Regions from separate parts of the Homo sapiens genome. Here regions 2, 3, 4 and 5 are each linked to region 1. Evidence: promoter capture Hi-C in 16 types of primary human blood cells and fetal thymus (Javierre and others, 2016). All regions are on one chromosome and are shown on one strand. The core of a region is centred on a gene start or on the middle of the fragment in contact, and the rest is flanking DNA. Distances in the headings are between cores, read along the strand shown. Region 1 holds the start of SEC24D (SEC24 homolog D, COPII component). Region 2 has its middle 100 kb from the start of METTL14-DT. Region 3 overlaps SYNPO2 (synaptopodin 2). Region 4 holds the start of METTL14 (methyltransferase 14, N6-adenosine-methyltransferase non-catalytic subunit). Region 5 overlaps SYNPO2 (synaptopodin 2).

Region 1 (2,857 bases), core at 216-2,715:
ACTTAACTGTGTGACATGGAATGAGCTGAAGAACCTCTCTAAGCCTCAGTTCCTTCTTTTAGAAAATGAAGCCTTTCCAGATTTCCACTGATTCTACAATTTATCTCCAGTTTATTTGCCCCATACAAGCATATTCTTCCTTTTGTTCTTTTATTTGCTACAATTTAAGATAAGAGATCAGTGATACCTGCTAAGACTTAGAATCTGTCTATATTCAAGAAATAACATTTCAAATTAAAAATTTGAAGCCTAAAATTTGTGATTTGATTTTGTTTCCATATTAAACTATAAGTTTCCAAAATAAAAGCAACCATGTAAAAATATTATGAGATCATTTCCTTCTCCTGGGAAGGGGAGAACTGAAAAAGAGGAGAGAGGCAGGCAAAGGCCTTCTGGTCCACTTTGTTTCTGACAACCCCTTTTTCCTCCTCCCACTTAGCAGAGAGAGACGTGGCAGCCTGAGCGCTGGTCAAGCTCATCCAACCAAGAGCACTTAGGAAGTCGGCACGAACACACCTAAGTAGCAGCCTGTTGCTGAGTGACAGAAAAGAGAGGCTGAGATGGTCACTCCAAAGAACAGGAAGCAGCCAGTTCCCTCTGAACTGGTCCTCAGAGGAATCAGCTTCCTCACGCAACCCAGTTTGCCACGTCAAACTTCCTCACACAGAGCACCAAGTTAAAGAAACCTGACTCAGCTTCAAGCGGCGACACGGCAGAAAGCCACTTGGTATAAGCAGGCCTAGGATCAAAATCTGGGGAGCCCCAACCCCAGAACGGCCCCCTGGCTCACTGTCACCCAGCAACTCTAGCCAAGGTGCACTTCTAACCCTGGAACAAGTTCGTATTTGGCCAGATCAGTTTCACTATTCGGATGTCCCGAGGCTTCAAGATATAGTTGCCATTTTTACCATGAATATTTCTAACATTTCCTTCCTTCAAAAAAGGAAATTAAGTTGATAAGGAGATGAGAAAACCGCTGGCAATGACACTCGAATGGTGGCCACTGAGGATCCTAACAAGGCAGTTCCTGCATCCCAAGGCAAAAGGTGGGGGCGGGTAAAAAATGCCCACGCCCACCTCCTGCTCCCCCATCCCGCCGGCCCCACTATTAAACTGCACTAGAAGGCTAAAGAACAAAGAATGAGTTCTCCTCCCGCCGCCACTGCCTCAGGTGAGCACCCGGCCTCCCGCCGCGTCCCCGGGCCGGGCGCCGCAACCCGCTCCGCTGTGCCTGGGCAGGGCTGTCCCGCATGAAGGCGTCCGCGGGTGGGAGGCTTTACCTGTTCCCGCTCCCGCACCCCGCGGGCTTCCGAGCGCTGGCGGCTCTGCGCCTAGTGCCGGCAGCCCTCGGTGGCCGGGCTCCCGCTGCGGTCGCTTCTCCCGCCGCGCCTCTTCCCCGGCCGGCGTCCCCTTAGCCTGGACTCACGCTCGGAGTTGCAGCTGGGCTGGGAACTGCCACGTCAAACCCTTTCTCGGCTGCGCGCCCCCAGCGCCGGGCTTGGACCAGCCGCCGCGCTCCCGCCTGCGCACGCGCACAGCCACCGGCCGCCGCGGGGCGGGGCCACCGGGCTGAGCCTGCGAGCGGCCGAGCGACCTCCCCCTTTTCGCTTTTTCCCTTTTTCCGGTTTTTTGTTTTTTGGTTTTCTTTTTCCCGTCTTTTCTTTCCCCTCCCCCTACAGGTCAAAGCCTTTAACGTCGTGGCTAAATCAGAACCGTATTTTCTCGGCGCAGCCCCGCAGGAAGGAGGGGAGCGCGTTCATTCATTCTTCCATCAACAGGTTGCAGTTTCAGCTCTTCATTCATTACGTATTACTTAAATAACTAATAGTTCAGGTACTGCACTACCGTTACATACGGGAAAGTACACGATCTGGACCTAGGGGAGATTACCGTTTAAAGGCGAATCTGGCACGTGTACACGCACATTTGATGACGTACCCGTGCAATGCACTACAGAGGAAGGAACGCCCAAAGCAGCCTGGCAACGTGTAACGCGGGAGGAGTGGGGGGTGGGGGAGATGTCCCAAAGGAAAAGTGTGGGAAGTGGGGTTTCCATTGATATTGGGGTTGTTAGCGTTGTGTATACTCCTTCTTCCGCATATTCCTTGTTTGTGAAGTAGGATGGCTGATCCCAGCCCCAAACAGGAATCTCTGCATGGAAAAGCACCCAGCGTTTAGCTCACCGTCCTGTGAGAAACAGCTCAGAAATAAAGGCAACCTATATGAGATCTGGAGCTTACCTCTCTATCTCACCCTAAAATCAGGACCATCTGGCTGGTTTCCTATCATCTTTCACTGCTAAATAGAAAGACATTCAGCCACTCCCAGGTTTGGTATAGCTACCACTTTGCTCAAACTTACAAAGTAAAAACCAGCCCGGTGTTGTTGTTTTTAACATGCACTTTCTTCCCGGCTACAAGAAAGCCACTTGACAAATACCTTTACTGATGAACTGCCTAGGTAAAAACGTACATGGGGATGTTGCTACTCCCGAAATGCTACATGAATTGTGCAGGAATTTTAAGTCATTTTAGCAGTAAAGATATATGGTCCATTTATCCCACTCTTAAAAGTTTTTAAGGCATGGGGCAAGGCACAGTGGCTCACACCTGTTATCCCAGCACTTTGGGAGGCCAAGCAGGGAGGATTGCTTGAGGCCAGGAGGCAGTGAGCTATGATCACACCACTGCGTTCCAGCGTGGGCAACAGAGTGAGACCCTGTCTCAAGAAAAAGAAAAAAAGATTTTAAGGTAAGATATCTGGCCTACATCCAGCTTCAACACTGATCAGGTTTGAAAACCCACATTGAAATTTTTGTTTTAAATTGTTTCTTGTATTCTCAATGTGATGAAAATGT
Region 2 (2,857 bases), core at 247-2,746, 250 kb before region 1:
ATCATCTGAGGTCAGGGGTTTGAGGTCAGCCTGGCCAACATGGTAAAACCCTGTTTCTACTAAAAATACAAAAATTAGGCGGGCATGGTGGCGGGTGGCTGTAATGCCAGTTACTCGGGAGGCTCAGGCAAGAGAGTCACTTAAACCCAGGAGGTGGAGGTTGCAGTGAGCCAAGATTGTGCCACTGCACTCCAGCCTGGGTGACAGAGCGAGATTCTGTCTCAAAAACAAAAACAAAACAAACCTGTCACTTGACCTACCACAAATGAATTTACATGCAGCCCTTTGGCCATGTGTTTACTGGCTAAAAGATGTCACTCCATAACCTCCTTTTATTTGTCTCCAAATTACAATGAGTTTAAGTGATAATTAATGTTAAGCAGCACCTAAAAAAGGCAGAATCCCAAGGTTGGAGGGGGTCACTAAACAGAGATTTCCATTTAGAAAAACAAAACAAAACAAATTCCTGTTCTCTATCTGAGAGCAGCTCCTAAACATGCAGACAAGACTTGACCTCATTCTCCTGTGTGTCTTTTCTGAAAAAATTCCTTTGTGCTCAGGGATATTGTGAGAAATAGAATTACATCAGTGAGTTGGTTTCTAATCAGCATGTGAACACCAAGTTCCAGATGGCAACGCACAGTTTCAATTTCACTATGTGCTGAAATTATTTATCGATCCCTATTAAATAGCCAGCAGCACCATATTCTGGACTAGACTTCAATAATTCTAAATGATTCAATCTGCTTTGTAAATATGGCTGCTGCAACCCGACTGTGACATTTCTGGGATGGCATTTCATTCTGTTTTGCCTCAGTGTATTCACAGGTGGCCAGTTCTTATTTACAGATAGAAACCTTCCACCTCGCTTCCTCCTTAAGATCTGTTAAGATGTGTTGAAGCTTTGAGAGTTCAGACCAGTCTCAATAATAGCAGAGATGCTGGTCTGGCAGCTGATGTCCCACTGGCTGTAGATCCCAATGAACATGAAGCTAAGAAAGTCAGCCCTGAGTATTGGGGAAACAGAGAAAGACAAGCAGGGTGGATGTGTGGTGGAGGAGGAAGGAATGAGGACGGTTCAGAACTTCGGGACAGATCAGGGCAGCCAGCTCACAGCATCAGGCCGGTGCTCAGATCTGTAGCAGTCAGTGCTCAAGGACAGACAGGGAGGCGTCTGGATCCAGGTGGTGGCAAGCTCATTAATTCATTTAAAAAACACTGATTGGGCATTGTCTTAGTCCATTTGTGTGGCGATAAAGGAATACTTGAGGCTGGGTAATTTATTTAAAAAGAGGTTTATCTGGCTCACAATTCTGGTGGCTGGAAGACTGGGCTTCTGGGGAAAACCTCAGGCTGATTCCACTCATAGTGGAAGGCAAAGGGGAGCACGTGTGTGCAGAGATCACATGGCAAGACAGGAAGCAAGAGAGAGCAGGAAGGTGCCAGGCTCTTTTTTTTTTTTCTTTTAATCTTGAAACAGTCTCACTCTATTGCCCAGCTGGAGTGCAATGGCGCGATCTTGGCTCACTGCAACCTCCACTTCCCAGGTTCAAGCAATTCTCCTGCCTCAGCCTCCCAAGTAGCTGGGACTACAGGCGTACGCCATCACGCCTGGCTGATTTTTGTATTTTTATTAGAGACAGGGTTTCACCGTGTTAGCCAAGATAGTCTTGATCTCCTGACCTCGTGATTCACCTGCCTTGGCCTCCCAAAGTGCTGGGATTACAGGCATGAGCCACCGCGCCTGGCCTGGGCTCTTTTTTAATAACCAGTTCTCCTGGAAACTAATGCCGCACCCTGGGCATTAATCTATTCATGATGGATCCGCCTTCGTGACCCAAACACCTGTTAGGCCCCGCCTCCAGCACTGGGATCAAATTTCAACACGAGGTTTGGGAGGGCAAATAGCCAAACCATAATAGGCACCTACTAAGTTCAGAGAAATATCTAGAGTCCAGGCAGATCAAGTCAAGACGCAGGGATCAGGAAACAAGGTTGCAGAAGTCAAGGAACAAGCCAAAGAGCTCTGCCAATAAATCCAGGATGAGGTCTCCGTAAATTCGTGTCAATTTCCATGGTAACTATCCCCAGGAAGCTTGCCATTTGGAGCAGGATTTCTCAAATAGTGGCCTCTAGATTTACAGCGTCACAATTTTGCTGGGTAAAGGGAGAATAGTGAAGCATGAAAAAAATGCAGATTCTAGTGTCGCAACCCAGACAGACTGAATCAGAATCCCTGAGGATTCTGAATTTCCAAGAAAATAAAGCCACTCACTTCCCATTGGGATTCTTCTGCAGCCTTTTGAGAACCACAGGTTTATAGGGATCTTTCAGTGACTTTGTTTTGGAAAATGAAAAAAAAAAATTTGAAAAAGCAGCTGCTGGAGTTTGGACAAAAGCTCAAATTTAAAAAGAATTCCCATAACCTCTTCATTAGATTTCTCTATCGGCACCACGGCAGTCATCGTTTACGTTACCGACACTGAACTTGTGAAATAAAGTGATGCTGGAAACGAGTCTGGAAGCCTGGCCCTCTGCACCCTCCTCCCAGTCAGAAGTACCTTTTTGTGAAGTGACACAATGTCCTGGTGAGACCGGCCCTTCCTGGAGGCAAGGACTTATGTTTTGCATATCTCTGTATGCCCCGCCTCTAACCCATGGCTAGAATATCGCAGAGGCTCAATCAATAATCAGTTAGCTCTGCTTTACAACCCAGCCCAAAATTCAGTGGCTTAAAACAGCTGTCTTGCTTTTGCTCAGGAGCTGTGAGCCAGCTGGCGTGGGTTGATCTACACTTGGTTCAGCTGAGGTTAGCTGTCAGCCACAGGTTGGGTCCATCTCTGCTCCACGTGTCTTG
Region 3 (2,857 bases), core at 122-2,621, 190 kb after region 1:
CTGTATGGTCATCATACATGGTTCATTGAGAACAATTGAACTCATAAAATGAAATCTAAGCACATTAGTATCACTTAGGGCTCCAGCAGGAAATAGGTGGCATGCTCAAAGAAGAATTCAATATAATGCAATGCAGAGACTAAAGGTAGTCTTAAGGGAACCAACAAATGATAATGAAGCACCCAGAAATCCAGAGATTGAGAGCAGGAAACTATTATCACTCATAGGCCCAAAGGTACAAGGAGATAATGTGTGTTGTTGGAACCTAACGAGTTAAGGCAATGATAGAGGGGCAGGCTGACAGGAGCTGCAACTCTCTAGACTGAAGAACAGAGCCACTGCTAAGCCATGGCCCAGCAGGTCCACCAAGGAGAGCATAGACCTGACCTCTCATTTCCCTTGGTCTTTGATCTCTTACTGGAGTAAGAATATTCCAGTAGATTATGACACAGTGCTTATGGCAGGGCTGCTTTTACTTTCTGCAAAGTAATCTCTTTTTTCTTTCTTTTTTGCTAAAGTTTGCTTAGTACCATGCCTGGAGTAGCTGATTTCAATGAAGCATTTCTCTCTTTGACATATTCCCTAATATCCAGGCTCCCTGGTGCCCCACTATACTGGGATGGTTTTTATCAGTCCATTTAGCTATACAGCTCTCTCCTCAAACAAGTTGCCCCGTCCTGTACCTCCTTCTTATAGTCATGGCGTTTCATTCACCTTGGCAATGGGAAGGATTTTAAAATTTATTGTAATGCAGGAGGTTACTTTCTCACTGGAGTAAAACCTTACAATGTGGAATTATCATCATCATAATAATAATGTTTTAAGACGGGGTCTTGCTCTGTCCCCCAGGCTGGAGTGCAGTGGCATGATCTTGGCTCACTGCAACCTCCACCTCCTGGCTCAAACAATCCTCCCACTTCTCCTGTGTGGCTAGGATCACAGGCATGCACCACCAAGCGGGCTAATTTTTGCATTTTTTGTAGGTTTTTTTTTTTTTTTTTTTTTTTTTTAGAGACAGGGTCTTACCATATTGACCGGGCTGGTCTCAAACTGCTGAGCTCAAGAGATCCACCTGCCTCAGCTTCCCGAAGTGCTGGGATTATAGGCATCAGCCACTGTGCCTGGCCTGAATTATTTATTTTATTTTATTTTATTTTAATTGTATTTTATTTTATTTTATATTTTATTTTATTTTAATTTTATTTTATTTTATGTTTTATTTTATTTTATTTTATATTTTATTTTATTTTATTTTATTTTATTTTTGAGACAGAGTCTTGCTCTGTTGCCCAGGCTGGAGTACAATGGTGCGATATTGGCTCACTGCAACCTCCACCTCCCGGGCTCATGCAATTCTCCTGCCTCAGCCTCCTGAGTAGCTTGGACTACAGGCGCACACCACCATGCCCAGCTAATTTTTGTACTTGTTAGTAGAGACGGGGTTTCACCATGTTGGCCAGGCTGGTCTCGAACTCCTGACCTCGTGATCCACCCGCCTTGGCCTCCCAAAGTGCTGGGATTACAGGCATAAGCCACCACGCCTGGCCTGAATAATTATTTTTAATGCCATCAATGTAAGCCTTTAACATCTTTTTTCACTCTTCTCTATTTTTTATTTCTTTAATTCTGTCTGGTACCTTTACATTGATTTATTTACTTTCTTTTTTCCTGTTTACTTACAATGCTATGAATTAAATGTTCATATTATGGTACATGATAAAGTGTGTGGCTGTGTGTGTGTTCATAAGGTGGTAAGAAGTATTTAAATGGTCTTACAGGTTAACAGGTGAATTAAAATTCAGGGCTGGTGTTACTGTTGACAGATTTGTTTCTCAGAGATGGTGGCTTGCTTTTTACAAATTATATCATTCTACTATGTCTTCTTTTTTTACTCCACTCAGATTCGAAATCAGAGCAAAGCCTCTGGGTCTGGGCTCTGTGAGGGAGATGAAGTGGTTTCCATCAATGGCAACCCTTGTGCAGATCTCACCTACCCTGAAGTCATCAAGCTCATGGAAAGCATAACAGACTCTCTCCAAATGCTCATCAAAAGGTACAACAGATTTGCTGGAATATGTATTTTCTCTTGAAGCTACATGGGAATGATTATAGCTTTTACTACATATATAACTTGTCATTTATGGAGAAATTAGGGGTGCTTTGTAGAAGGTTAGGTATAGTTAAACAGAAACACCACTGTGTTTGAAAAATAGTCAATTCTAGTCAACCAAACTTTCTGGTTAATTGAGAATTAAGTTGAAAATGCTTGTTTCAAGCACTTTGTTGAAAATCTTAGGTATTTTAGGCTCCTTCCTTAGAAAGCTCAGTATATTGAGCATAACTTAATATTTCTTTGATAGGTCAAGATTTTGTGATGGATCAGAATCACTCAATTGTAATTATCAGATGCACAGATGAATTAAAAATGTTTAAATATTAGACCATTAAACTGTACAATTTTTCATTAAAAGGATGCTTAAGAGACAGAAAAGAGAAACAACAACAAAAACTTACAAGCAGCCGGATTTCTCCAGTAAAACCAATATTTGAGGATGGACAAAAGCAGATGATTAGAATAAGGTTTTTGCACGACCAACACAGGTCATTTGGGAATTCAATCTCTTCAAATACCACCATCCCCACATAGTTGTTTAACAATATAAAAGAAACCTTTAAATGTAAAAAACAAAAGAAAACAATGAGGACAATAACAAGGAAAACTACAGCATTGACATTTTTATGGTGTACAAATCACAGTACAATCCATACTGATTTTGCAACGGAAGCTCTGGCTATTGCATGATAATGAATCCAGAAAGGAAAGCTTTGGCTTCCTGGAGAGCAGCTTTTAGGAAGA
Region 4 (2,857 bases), core at 129-2,628, 150 kb before region 1:
AGCTTCTGACTCCTAGGACATAAACCAAGACACGCTTTACTATCACATACTCATTTCCCTAAAGGGAAGAAGCCAAAAAATGCATACTATAGTAAAATGGGAAACATTTCAAGGGACAGTAAGGTGTGGGGAAGAGTGGGCAGATGTTGTGGCTGTTACCTGCGTGAAGGTAAATAAAATATTAACAATAACAAGCACTTCTACACCGCTATGTGCAAGGTGCTATTTATCCTTTCAATCACAGCTCTGTGAGGTAGACACTTATGACTCCCATTTTACAGATGACAAAACTGAGGCTCACGAAGGTGGTTAACTAGCCAAGGCCACTCGTCTAGGAAGTGAGAGGCCAAGGTTCAATCCTAGGCAATCTGGCTTAAGTTTGTGTTCTGTTAAAAAAAAAAAAATTAAAGGTTATCTGGCAATTTTTTAAACGTCAGGACTGTCATCTGTGGAATCAATTGAAAAGGGAATCAACACTTCAGAAACTGTAATACACCAAGGGAACCTGCTATCCTGGGAAAGAGAGATAAAGGAGAAGTCAGCTGACTGTCCTCCTTCAGACTAGCTCAGACCACCCCAACCTGCGAGGGCCCTGGAGACCCCTGTGGCGCAACAGATCCCTTACTGGGTCCCTTCCAAGTGGCGTCACATAGCAAGCGTCCAGAAGGAGGCGGGACTTCCGGGCCAAGCGAGCCAATTCCGGCCGCGCCGGAAGTCTCTACTGAGGAAAGCTATGAGGATACTCTGTTCGTAAGCTCCCGGTGAATTTTGTTCCACAGACTCGGAAGAAAGGTTGGATAAGAGTTCACTGGAGATTGACAAGTACTCGGGATAGTGAAAAGCCGGAGTTGGAACATGGATAGCCGCTTGCAGGAGATCCGGGAGCGGCAGAAGTTACGGCGACAGCTCCTCGCGCAGCAGGTCCGCGGCCCTGGTGTCCCCTGTGGGAGGGATCGAGAATGCGAGTGCGCGGCCGCCTCCTCCCTCCACACCCCGCCTTTTTCTGTCCCTTCTCTACCTGCCGCTGTTAAGGCCTTTCTGGTCCTGCGATCTTGATCCCTGGTTCTGCCTTTGTAGTTCTCAATTTTCGCGGTGTCCCGAATGTTTTTCCAGTTCCTTCCGCGGTCTTTGTGGTGCTAAACCGAATGCCAGGATTAGCCTTTAAGCTTTGTGGAACTCCCACCGAGTGTCTGGCATGTTCACGCCAGGATGAGTGTCATGTTATCCCCTACATTTCTCTTCACTATTAAATGGTCATCTATTTCTTTCTTTTCTTCGTCGTCAGCCCCAAATTCTTGAGATTGTGGTTTCATTATGAAATACGTTTACAGTATTTTCTTTGACATCTTTCTGAAGACAACACTGGAAGTAGCCTGAGTGTAAATTTTAGATTCTGCATCTTATATAGAGTATCCTTGTCACATCCACAGTTAATATTTGAAATCTTACTCTGTGTTAGTCACAATAATCTCCTGAAACAGGTATTATTACCTTCACTTATCAAGTAATGAAAAAGGCTCCATACGTTAAGGAATTTTACTCCTGGTCGCTCACTTCTCTGCTGGGAAATAGAACCTAGGTTTGTCTCCCCAAAGCTTGTCTTCTAAACCATTGTCCTTCACTTCTTTCTTGTGTATGAGTAAGTTAACATTTGCTGATTAGTAGAGTGCACATGCAGAAAATACAGATTGTGCACAGTTCTACTTAAAATCGAGGCTGTATTTTCCATTCTACTATTCAGATCAGTAAAAGTGATAGGAGCAATGCTCATAGAGTGTAATTAGTCATCTTGCAGTTATTTTTCAGTAATGAAACTTGGTTTTAGTAAATGGACTTCTGAAACCTATCCTCTTTATGGTCTGATGAACAGATTTGTGGAATATGGCTAAAACCGTGGAAACTTGGAGTCAGATTTGTTCCTTTGTTCCTTATCCCGCTGGCATTACGATCTTGGGCAAATCAAGTATCCTTTCTAAGTCTTCTTTTCGCCAACTTCTTTTATCGTATTATCTTCAAAAATGTTAAGTAGCTCTTTGTTGCTACCACAGAAGACGTTTTACTCCTTAATATTGAATTCAAACTTCTATTTGACTCAATATACATTCATAGGACAATTATTTGTTTAGTGTTTTACACTCAGCAGATGCCAGGGGCTCTACCTTTTAAAGTCTTTTATGAATTGGTTGCACTCTACTTAGCCAGCCTTATAACCATTATTTGTTTACATTTGTTTGTATTTTGCAAAATTTTCCAAACTGCCAAACAAAATTTATGTTACCATTTTAAGGTAGTAAAGTTCAGCCTTGTGTCTATAAATAGTAAGACTTAGCTTGAGTAAAACTGGATCGATTTTTATTAGAGCATAGAATAAATAAGTTATATAAGCTGATGCCTACAAAATGTTTAACATGGTACCCACAACCCTGTGCAAACACTGTCTTATCTGCCTTTTTTAGTTATTGCTATTGCAGGTTGAATATCTCTTATCTGAAATGCTTGGGCCAGAAGTGTTTTGGATTTCAGATTTTTTTCAGGATTTGGAATATTTGCATATTACTTACTGGTTGAGCATGCCAAATACCAAAACTCAAAATCGGAATGCTTCAGTGACCATTTCCTTTGAATGTCATGTCAGTACTCAAAAAGTTCCAGATTTTGGAGCGTTTTGGATTTTGGATTTTCAGATTTGGAATGCTCATTTTATATTAAATCGTGTGTATTGCTTCACAGGAAATTGGCTAAAGTGTCTTATTTTCAAATACAGATGGTTCCAGACTTACTATCATTTGACTTAACAATTGACTTTATGATGGTTTGAGAGTGATAGGCATCCAGGCTGCTCATTGACTTACGGTGG
Region 5 (2,857 bases), core at 214-2,713, 140 kb after region 1:
TATGACACAGTCACTAGTGAATAACTCTGTCCCTTAGTACTCTTTAATATTCACTAAATAAAACAATAAGTTTGTATCCCTCCAATTTTTTTACTATATACCCTGTAATAACTTGATACCTCCCTTGGATAAGATGCATGAATGCTTTTACCTTAACCACCCCACATATTATTTACAAATTTGTCTGTATATGATAGAAAGATAAATATACTTCCCATAGCAGATAACCTCATTTCATTATTATAAAGGGACTGTAGTAGAAAACTGGTCTTGCTATATCCAATTACTGCCAAAATAGAGAAAGCTACAAACACTCTAGAACCAAGGTGGGTGGATTTGGCCTATGACCACATAGGCTTTCTAAAGGTTCCCTTCATCTCAGAAGCATTTGCACATGCAGAGAAGAAGTCCTTAGAAGAGGACTAGAACACGGTGGGTGCTTTATAACTCCTTGTCAATAAATGAATGAATAAAGTAATCAATCAAAAAGATCACTTTAGTTTTTCTCAGAGAAATGTCAACATGAGTTCCAGAGGACACAGAATCTTTTCATTTGTTTTGACCCCCAATGATACTTTGTCTCCTTAGACAGGCTTGTTGTTAGACCAACACTCTCTGGGGTGGCAAAAAGCTGGGGTCACTTTGGGACTGAGCACATTCTGGTGCTAGTGAAAGGTCCCGTGAGCACCTTCGCTCCTTCTCTCCCTCCGTGTTAAAATGCAATATGTTATTCTTTGACATGAAGATGAATATATGTTATATTTGATTTCTGAGATTTGCTCAGTGTCTTAAGTTAGCTGTTTTGGCTAATGTTTAGTAAATTACTCTAAACAATAAGCAGATAATTATTATGTGTCTTTTAAACTGAAAACAAAGCGAACCCATGACTCTTAAGAACAAGGAGCCAGAATCCATGGATGGTTATGTTATGCCAGTGTTTTCAAGACAGCAGAGGACTGGGCAACTATCTCAAAGGTCCCAAATGTTGAAGGCTTAGAGTAGCTCTCCTACATCCCACCATCCTTTTAGGCTTTAACTTGAAATGATCAGTTTTACTCACAATGAAGATGCACTGGACAATGTGACTTAGACCTGAGGCTAGAATGGCGCTTCCATATCTTTTAGGAATTAATGTTTATTACATTAAAGCCAATGGGTCTCCAGTGAAAGGGCAACCTGACTTATTCATTCATAGACAGCAAAGCTGGCCTGGAGAACAAAAGCTAGCTGGGCCTGCTAGGGCAGGGTTTGCCTACTTTCTGGGTCCTGAAGCACAAGTGAGCGCATCATCTGTGAACACAGTGGTCTGAGGCAGTAAGAGAAAGACCTGGCCAGCTTTTCCTTTTCAATGCAGTAACCATGGTCTCTGAAAAATAATGGCTCAATGACTCAGTCTCTCTTTAATCAAATTAGCTACTCTTCCCATGCCGAGAAGTGACAGGAGAGATCCAGAAGTGTTATGTTCTCCCATCCATGAGAGGGGTGGACATTCCCTCTTTTGAGAAAGTGTAAGAAGGAAAATAATGGTTTCTTCAACATCACATAATTCTACAGGGATAGACCTCATAGTGTGGTCCCAGTGAGCGTCATAGTACTCTACAGTGGTCTTGAACAGCTTCGTAGGCTTACATGTAGAACTCTATTTAATCTCCACAGAAATTCTATGTAGGAGTTATCCTAACTTCTGACGAGAACTTCCTCAGAACATAAAAGAAAGAGAGGAGACAGAATAATATTTAACTATACTTATAAAAACAATTCTGAGGCCGAGTGCAGAGGCTCATGCATGCCTGTACACTTTGGGAGACAGAGGTGGGAGGATCACTTGAGCCCAGGAGTTTGAGACCAACCTGGGCAGCATGGGGAGACCCTGTCTCTACAAAAAAAGAAAGAAAAAATAGCCGGGTGTAGTGGTGCGTGCCTGTAGTCCCAGCTACTTAGGAAGCTGAGGTGGAAGGATGGCTTCAGTCCAGGAGGTGGAAGCTGCAGTGAACTGTGATTATGCCACTGCATTCCAGCCTGGCTGACAAAGGGAGACCCTGTCTCAAAAAAAAAGAAAAGGGAATTCTGAGATTTCAAGCAGAATCTGATTCCCTTACATTTCCCCAAATAGGAAAATAAAACACTTTTTATGTATTTTTTTCTTTTCCTCCAAGCCCTTCAAACTGTAAGGGCAGTTTGTCTAAACTAACTCAGAAGGGAAACGAGCAAATTTGTCTCTTAGGTGCTAGCTTTGTTTTTTCTCCATCACTTCTAGCATTGTCCTCTTAGGATTGTTGTCAGGTTTACAGAGTCAGCAAGGGTGAAACTGTTTTGCCCACTGCCTACAATTTTAAGTTATACATCTCTAAGTTTAAATCTAGTTCTGTGACCTTGGGCAAGCTACAAAAATCTCCTCAAAGTTCAGTTTACTTTTCATCACATAGTGAGTGCTTAATAATTTCAGTGTCTTTCATTTGAAAATTGGAAACAAATTAGATATTACAGGATCAGAAATACATATTTTGTAAGCTGGCTATCCCCGCTTGCTCACCTGCTTTTTCTCCCCATTCACACCACTTTTTCACACCAATGGTCCCCACTTATTATAACTCAACTTATGATGTTTCAACTTTACAATGGGCTTATACATGCATTAAATGCATTTTTGACTTATGGTATTTTTTGATTTATGATGGGTTTTGTGGGACATAGTCCCATTGTAAGTTGAGGAGCATCTGTAGAGTGAAAAACGTTTGAATTTTTGAGTAAGTCAGAATTATAGAATTAGTAATTCTATATTATTATGTGAATTCTGTTAATTATTATATGAATTCCATCAATTATAGAATTATTAATTCAAGGATTCTATTATACT

Evidence for each region. The method cuts DNA at HindIII sites, captures the fragments that hold promoters and counts their contacts. A CHiCAGO score of 5 or more calls a contact.
Region 2: a fragment that was not itself captured here is called in contact with the fragment with the promoter of SEC24D in region 1 in 2 of 17 cell types (monocytes and fetal thymus); the score reaches 5.1 in monocytes.
Region 3: a contact is called between a fragment that was not itself captured here and the fragment with the promoter of SEC24D in region 1, in 1 of 17 cell types (monocytes). The highest score is 6.4, in monocytes.
Region 4: a contact is called between a fragment that was not itself captured here and the fragment with the promoter of SEC24D in region 1, in 5 of 17 cell types (total CD8 T cells, non-activated CD4 T cells, total B cells and 2 more). The highest score is 6.9, in total CD8 T cells.
Region 5: a fragment that was not itself captured here is called in contact with the fragment with the promoter of SEC24D in region 1 in 1 of 17 cell types (monocytes); the score reaches 5.4 in monocytes.

The regions. Positions count from the first base shown.
Region 1 is chr4:118,834,661-118,837,517 of GRCh38, forward strand. It overlaps SEC24D (SEC24 homolog D, COPII component), which reads right to left and starts at 1,466. Exons shown (of 23, transcript NM_014822.4): 1 at 1,281-1,466. RefSeq lists enhancers at 822-1,713, 1,334-1,628 and a silencer at 1,140-1,629. The HindIII fragment of the contact is 6,235 bases long and covers 1-2,857 here.
Region 2 is chr4:118,583,859-118,586,715 of GRCh38, forward strand. No RefSeq gene overlaps it. Among named protein-coding and RNA genes, the nearest start is that of METTL14-DT, 100 kb to the right of the region's middle. The HindIII fragment of the contact is 1,193 bases long and covers 901-2,093 here.
Region 3 is chr4:119,021,529-119,024,385 of GRCh38, forward strand. SYNPO2 (synaptopodin 2) reads left to right here. Exons shown (of 5, transcript NM_133477.3): 2 at 1,902-2,053. Among named protein-coding and RNA genes, the nearest start is that of SYNPO2-AS1, 38 kb to the left of the region's middle. The HindIII fragment of the contact is 2,902 bases long and covers 1-2,822 here.
Region 4 is chr4:118,684,680-118,687,536 of GRCh38, forward strand. METTL14 (methyltransferase 14, N6-adenosine-methyltransferase non-catalytic subunit) reads left to right here and starts at 713. Exons shown (of 11, transcript NM_020961.4): 1 at 713-921. The coding sequence starts at 856. It overlaps METTL14-DT (METTL14 divergent transcript), which reads right to left and starts at 662. Exons shown (of 7, transcript NR_125930.1): 1 at 626-662. RefSeq lists enhancers at 672-931, 1,112-1,251. The HindIII fragment of the contact is 429 bases long and covers 1,165-1,593 here.
Region 5 is chr4:118,970,398-118,973,254 of GRCh38, forward strand. The region is part of intron 1 of SYNPO2 (synaptopodin 2); the gene reads left to right. All of the region lies in intron 2 of SYNPO2-AS1 (SYNPO2 antisense RNA 1), which reads right to left. Among named protein-coding and RNA genes, the nearest start is that of SYNPO2-AS1, 13 kb to the right of the region's middle. The HindIII fragment of the contact is 3,448 bases long and covers 1-2,857 here.